Linked DNA regions of Homo sapiens: region 1 is linked to region 2. Evidence: promoter capture Hi-C in 16 types of primary human blood cells and fetal thymus (Javierre and others, 2016). All regions are on one chromosome and are shown on one strand. Each heading gives the region's core, a stretch centred on a gene start or on the middle of the fragment in contact. The rest is flanking DNA. Distances are from core to core; before and after follow the strand shown. Region 1 holds the start of DELEC1 (deleted in esophageal cancer 1). Region 2 holds the start of AMBP (alpha-1-microglobulin/bikunin precursor).

What was found. Contacts are between HindIII fragments. The CHiCAGO score rates a contact against its expected background, and 5 or more counts as called.
Region 1: a contact is called between the fragment with the promoter of DELEC1 here and the fragment with the promoter of AMBP in region 2, in 4 of 17 cell types (activated CD4 T cells, non-activated CD4 T cells, naive CD8 T cells and 1 more). The highest score is 9.1, in activated CD4 T cells.

The regions. Positions count from the first base shown.
Region 1 is chr9:115,140,383-115,143,082 of GRCh38, reverse strand. DELEC1 (deleted in esophageal cancer 1) reads right to left here and starts at 1,265. Exons shown (of 8, transcript NR_163556.2): 1 at 1,215-1,265. The HindIII fragment of the contact is 2,096 bases long and covers 1-1,609 here.
Region 2 is chr9:114,076,885-114,079,584 of GRCh38, reverse strand. AMBP (alpha-1-microglobulin/bikunin precursor) reads left to right here and starts at 1,285. Exons shown (of 10, transcript NM_001633.4): 1 at 1,285-1,492. The coding sequence starts at 1,376. The HindIII fragment of the contact is 5,279 bases long and covers 692-2,700 here.

The sequences.
Region 1 (2,700 bases), core at 16-2,515, 1.1 Mb before region 2:
GCCCACTGACCACAGGTCTCCAGGGAGGATGAATAAAGGGTTAGATTCTGTTGAATTGAGTCATCTGACATCATTTAAATAAAGTTGTGGACACCAATAGAAGAGTACATGGTCATCAACAGGACGGATAGAGTTGGGTGTCGCTTTGGAGACCCTTGGAGATGCACAGCTATGCTCGGTCTCCAGGCTTGTCATAGTTGAAACTACAGAGGCGATTCTTGGAGAAGGACATTTCCCCCCAAAGAGGCAGTCCTCAATAATGCCATCTTTGTTGCAGCAGAACATCGGCAACCTTGTTCTGAGCTGAGTCCAAGTTGAGGGGAAAGAGGGGAACAGCCAGCTGTGAAAAGATCAATTTGTTTCCAATCCATTCTTTCTTATGGTTAGAGAGGCTGGCTCCCCACACTGGCTGGGTCTGTCAGGGACAGATGCCAAGTAGGGCACAGACTGAAGAAACACCCCCTGTTCCCACTGAAGCAGGAGCATTCAGCCTCTGCTCTGAGTAAGCCTCAGAGTCTATGGCATTAGCCATCCCCTAGTTAGGTTGCTTTGGGGAGACACAAGTTGGGGCAGATGAGAGGGACGCCCCAAGTCTAATTCAAAACTACAATTATTCAAACCCTCCATTTATTTATGTTTGTAAATACCCAGTGTTGGCAGGTTGTGGGAAAGCAGGGGTTACCATATACCATAGCTGAGAGTGTAAATTGGTATAACCTCTTAAGAAAACCATTTGGCAGAATCTATGGAAATTGAAAGTGCATAGACCCTATGTTACAGACAGTCTACTTCTAGGAATTTATCCTTCAGATAAATTCTCAGAAGTGCACCCAGATGAATGCACAAGGAGGATGTTTATTACAGCATTGTTTGTCACAGAAAAAGTCCAGAATCAACTGAACATTATGTTGTAGAGTAAAAGAATGAGCCACACATAGAAAGAGGTCTGAGAGAAAAAGGAGGAAGGAATATTCAGTTTGGTATGCATGGTAAAAATCTATTTATTATACATAAAGTTAACCCCTGCATCAACATGTATGTTTTACATCCTGTTGGATCTCTGCTAATACCTCTGTCTGTTCCTACCCCTATCCCAAGATTCAATAATACAAGGCAAGAAGACTCCTGTACGGCCCTGTGGATGTGCAAGATGCTAAGAATGAGTGGATATTACAGATAGATGTAAAAGTAGGAACCTTGCCAGCCTCTATTACCTTTCCTCAGTAGATCTGTCTTCCTGGGCCAGGGTGAGGTAGAAACAATAGCTAGATGAGTAATCAGTGGCTTGTATGGCTTGGCATTTTTCCTGAGCTCCCTTTGGAGAGGGAACTAAGACCATACTCAGTATTTTCAGGTTTTCAGTCTCTTCATAATTGACGGCCCATTCCCTCCTCTTATCAAATTGCACAGAGATCAAATGTGAAGGAGCCTGAAAGAAAGGACAGCGTGTATTGCTCAATTAAGAATTTGCTCCCTTCCAGCTCTAAAACATCCCCAAATTTTCCAGTTGCAAATGTTACCAAATTTACAATGACCACCAAATGTTGAATAAAACATATGTAATTCTACCCATCCTGGCAATAATTCACTGTGGAGTTTTGGTCAAGCTTCCTGCTCTCAGTCAGCCTCAGTTTTCCCTGTGGTTCATGTGATAAGGACTATGTACCTAGGGGGGCAAGAGCAGATCACCTGTGCCCCTCTCTCCCTGCTTCCTCTGACAGGCATAGCTAATCAATCACAACATGCTTTCCTACAGATCTCAGATGATTCCTCTGACTACTTCTTGACACAGAATTGTAAGCAATCACAAATATTTAATCCAAATTGATGTAAAAGTCAACATTTAATTGTCCTCTCCATACTAGATGATATCTGAAGTTCATTCCAGATTTAACATTCTGTTTCCACAATTCAAGGATTCATTTGAACGCCAGCTCGTTCATGAAGTCAACCTAGATTGCTGAAGAACAAGTTAATTTTTCCTGTTTCTGACTTATGGAGACAGAGCTATATAAGTCGATATGAACTTGACTTCTGGTTTCTTTGCATTGTTATCTCATTGTCACCTGTATAACAATGCTGCCTCCATGGGGAAATTTAATTTAAGTATAGAAAGTACATCCCATATAATAATTTTCAGACTGTGATGCATAGTACCCCCAGAGTTACTCAAAGATTTTCCATGGGCTCTAGTTGGCAGAGATAAGGAAATTTTCAGATTCTCAGCTTTCATTTGCACTCTTTCTCAGGAATCTGAAGAGAGTCCCTTTTTCGTAAATGCTTTTCTCTCACTTTACAAATGGAATTCATACCTCTCACTCATCTCGAGTTGCTTTGGGGTATAAAAATTTCTGGGGGACCAAACAAAGGTACAACTCAAAATTCTTTCGAGAAAAAGTGTTGAGAAAGTGAATGACTAATGACCTTGCAGCAAATCATTCTGCAAGTCAGATGACTTTCAATGCTTTAGTTACAACAAAACTGAAGGGGAACCTAATTAAAATGTCACCTGAGAAAGTATTAAAAATCCTATTTGATGATTGATCTTTATGTGATTTTTGGCATACAACCTGGTAAGAAGTTATAACACTGCTATAAGAAAAGTTTTTCTTTTCCCATCTACTTATTTTTGTGAATAGGTTTCTCAGTGCTTACAACCAAAAAATGAAAAGTAAATAAAATTTATGAAATACCATCTCA
Region 2 (2,700 bases), core at 36-2,535:
AGCACTGGAGGTCAGACACCTGAGACCAAATTTTCAGCAGAGCCATGTTCCCTTTGAAGATTCTGGGGAAAAGTCCTTCCTTGCCTTTTGCTAGCTTTTGGTGGCTGCCATCAATCCTTGGTGATTTTTGACGTGTCACTGCATCCCTCCCATCTCTGCCTTCGGCGTCACGCCACATCTTCCCCGTGCTTCTCTCTGTGTCCCTGTGTCTGAGTCTCCCTCACCATTCTCTTATAAAGATACCGGTCATTGGATTTAAAACCCCTGTCATCCAGTTCAACCTCATCTAACTAATCACATCTGCAAATCAGGTTCATTCTGCGGTTCGGGGTGCACATGGATTCTGGAGGGGGCACTGTTCAACCCACCACAAACACTCAGCTCTTACTCTATGCTGGGTACTGTCCTAGCGCATTGCAGGTGCTCACTCAACAATGCTAGGAGCTAGGAACTATTATTATCCCCATTTACAGATGAGGAAACCAAGGCACTGAAAGGTAAAGTGACTTGCCCAAGGTCACACAGCAGTGAGTGCCACTGTAGGCTGCCTGGCTCCCACGTCCATGGTCTCTACCACGCCTTTCCCAGCTACTCCACTCCCGGCTGAGGGATTCTGGGCAAGTCACTTCACTTCTTGGAGACTCAACTCCTCTGCCTGTAAAGGGGACAAATAGCACCTACTTCGTAAGCTTGTTGTGGGGATTTACTGGACACCTGTGGCACGTGTAAAGTGCCTGGTACACAGCCAGCACATAGCAGGTGCTCAGTGAACGGAAGCTCGTAACAGTCATCATTGTTAATGTCTCTATTATTTGCAAAGGCTAGGGCAAGCCTGGGGGCTGGAGAAGGAACTCTGGAGACAGGATACCTGGGTTCTGGTCTTGGCTCTGCCCATAGACTTCCCTGAGGTCTCTGGCAAGTCACTTCCTCTCCTTGGGCCTCAGTTTTTTCCTGTGAGAAATGGGCCCAATCAGGCTTGACCTGCTGGCTCACAGAGCTGTGAGGTCCAGATGGCATGACTCAGCAGAAAGGCCAGGTCGCTCCCCATCCTCGCATGCCCTCTGTGGGGGACTTTTGGGGGGCGGAGCCCAATCCTGGTGCTCCAGGGCCCTATTGTGCTTGGCCAATGCCTCTTCTGAAGCAGCCATCCCGGCCTCTTGGTACTGCTGACCCCAGCCAGGCTACAGGGATCGATTGGAGCTGTCCTTGGGGCTGTAATTGGCCCCAGCTGAGCAGGGCAAACACTGAGGTCAACTACAAGCCACAGGCCCCTTCCCCAGCCTCAGTTCACAGCTGCCCTGTTGCAGGGAGGCGGTGGCCCTTCTGTTGCTAGACCGAGCCTGTGGGATATACCAAGGCAGAGGAGCCCATAGCCATGAGGAGCCTCGGGGCCCTGCTCTTGCTGCTGAGCGCCTGCCTGGCGGTGAGCGCTGGCCCTGTGCCAACGCCGCCCGACAACATCCAAGTGCAGGAAAACTTCAATATCTCTCGGGTAAGGCTGCCGCTCTCTGTGGTAGGGTGGATGTGGTGATGGGGAGTCCAGGCAGATGGGCCCTGCTGGGCAAGTGCGGCCTGTCTCGGGGTCTCAGGCTTCCACTCAGATCATCTGGGATTATGGGATCCTTTGAAGGTACAGCTCTATCCCCTGCCATTCCGTGGGTCTCTTGGCTGACATTCTATGAGTCAAACATCCTCACCTTCTGCACTGTCCTCGTGGGCTCCAAGGGGAACCCTTGTGTTAATGGGAACCTGCTCCAGAGAAGGCTTTGTCCTGCCTGCCACTGCCCTGCAGCCCCCGTGCAGACACCTAGCTTTGCCCAGACCTCCCAGCCCTTCCTTCTCTAATGACTCCCCTCTCTCTGTGGCATCTTTCCCTTAGCTCTTCCTGTGTCCCCTGCCCACATCCTGGCCTGACTGTGGACAGACACCTGGGGTGGCACAGCGTGGGCATGTGGCCAGCAGCTTTTGGGTTGGGCATGTGGGGCTTATGGGAAGAGGTGAAGCAGGACAGAGATTAGGGTTGGGAGACATTCAGAGGCTTGGGCACAAGGAGAGACCTGGACTGGGGCAGGACACTCTCCTGTGAGTGTGGAGTGCCAGAGCTGCCTTCCAGCCCCCACTCTGCCCTAAATCCCGGGGTGGCTTTGAGAATACCCTTGCCCACCTGGGGCTGTCTCCATGTCTGTATGAAGGGTCTCAGAACCTTCTAGCTGTGGTGTCATGTGGGTTTTGTTTACTTTTAGGGACAAGGAAAGGTCGTGGCAGAGGGGCAATGAGGAGCAGGTCCCTGTGGCAGTCTGGGACGCAAAGGGTGTGGGGCACATTGGCCTGTTCCGTAGGAGCCTGAGGGCTCCTTCAGCTGTCCCGTGCACTTTCAGGAGGAAGAGGAAGCAGGCCTATCCTGAATGACCCCATCATGTTCATTATACTTTTGAAATAATTCCTAACATGGGGCTGTGGGCTGCCTTGCAAGGTGGGGAGCACCCCATCATTGGAGGAGTAAAAGACAGGACTCCAGCTCTTGGGGAGCAGTGGTTGATGGAGCTATGGACAGATCCCACATCTTGAGAGAGTTAGCCCTTCTGCAGGGCAGGTTGGGACCCCAGCCGCACACCTGCTTCCTGGGTTCGCTGTGATGCCTGAAACGCCACTCTTAGGGATCTGGCCTCCCTTGAAGGTGTGTGGCCTCTGATTAGTTGT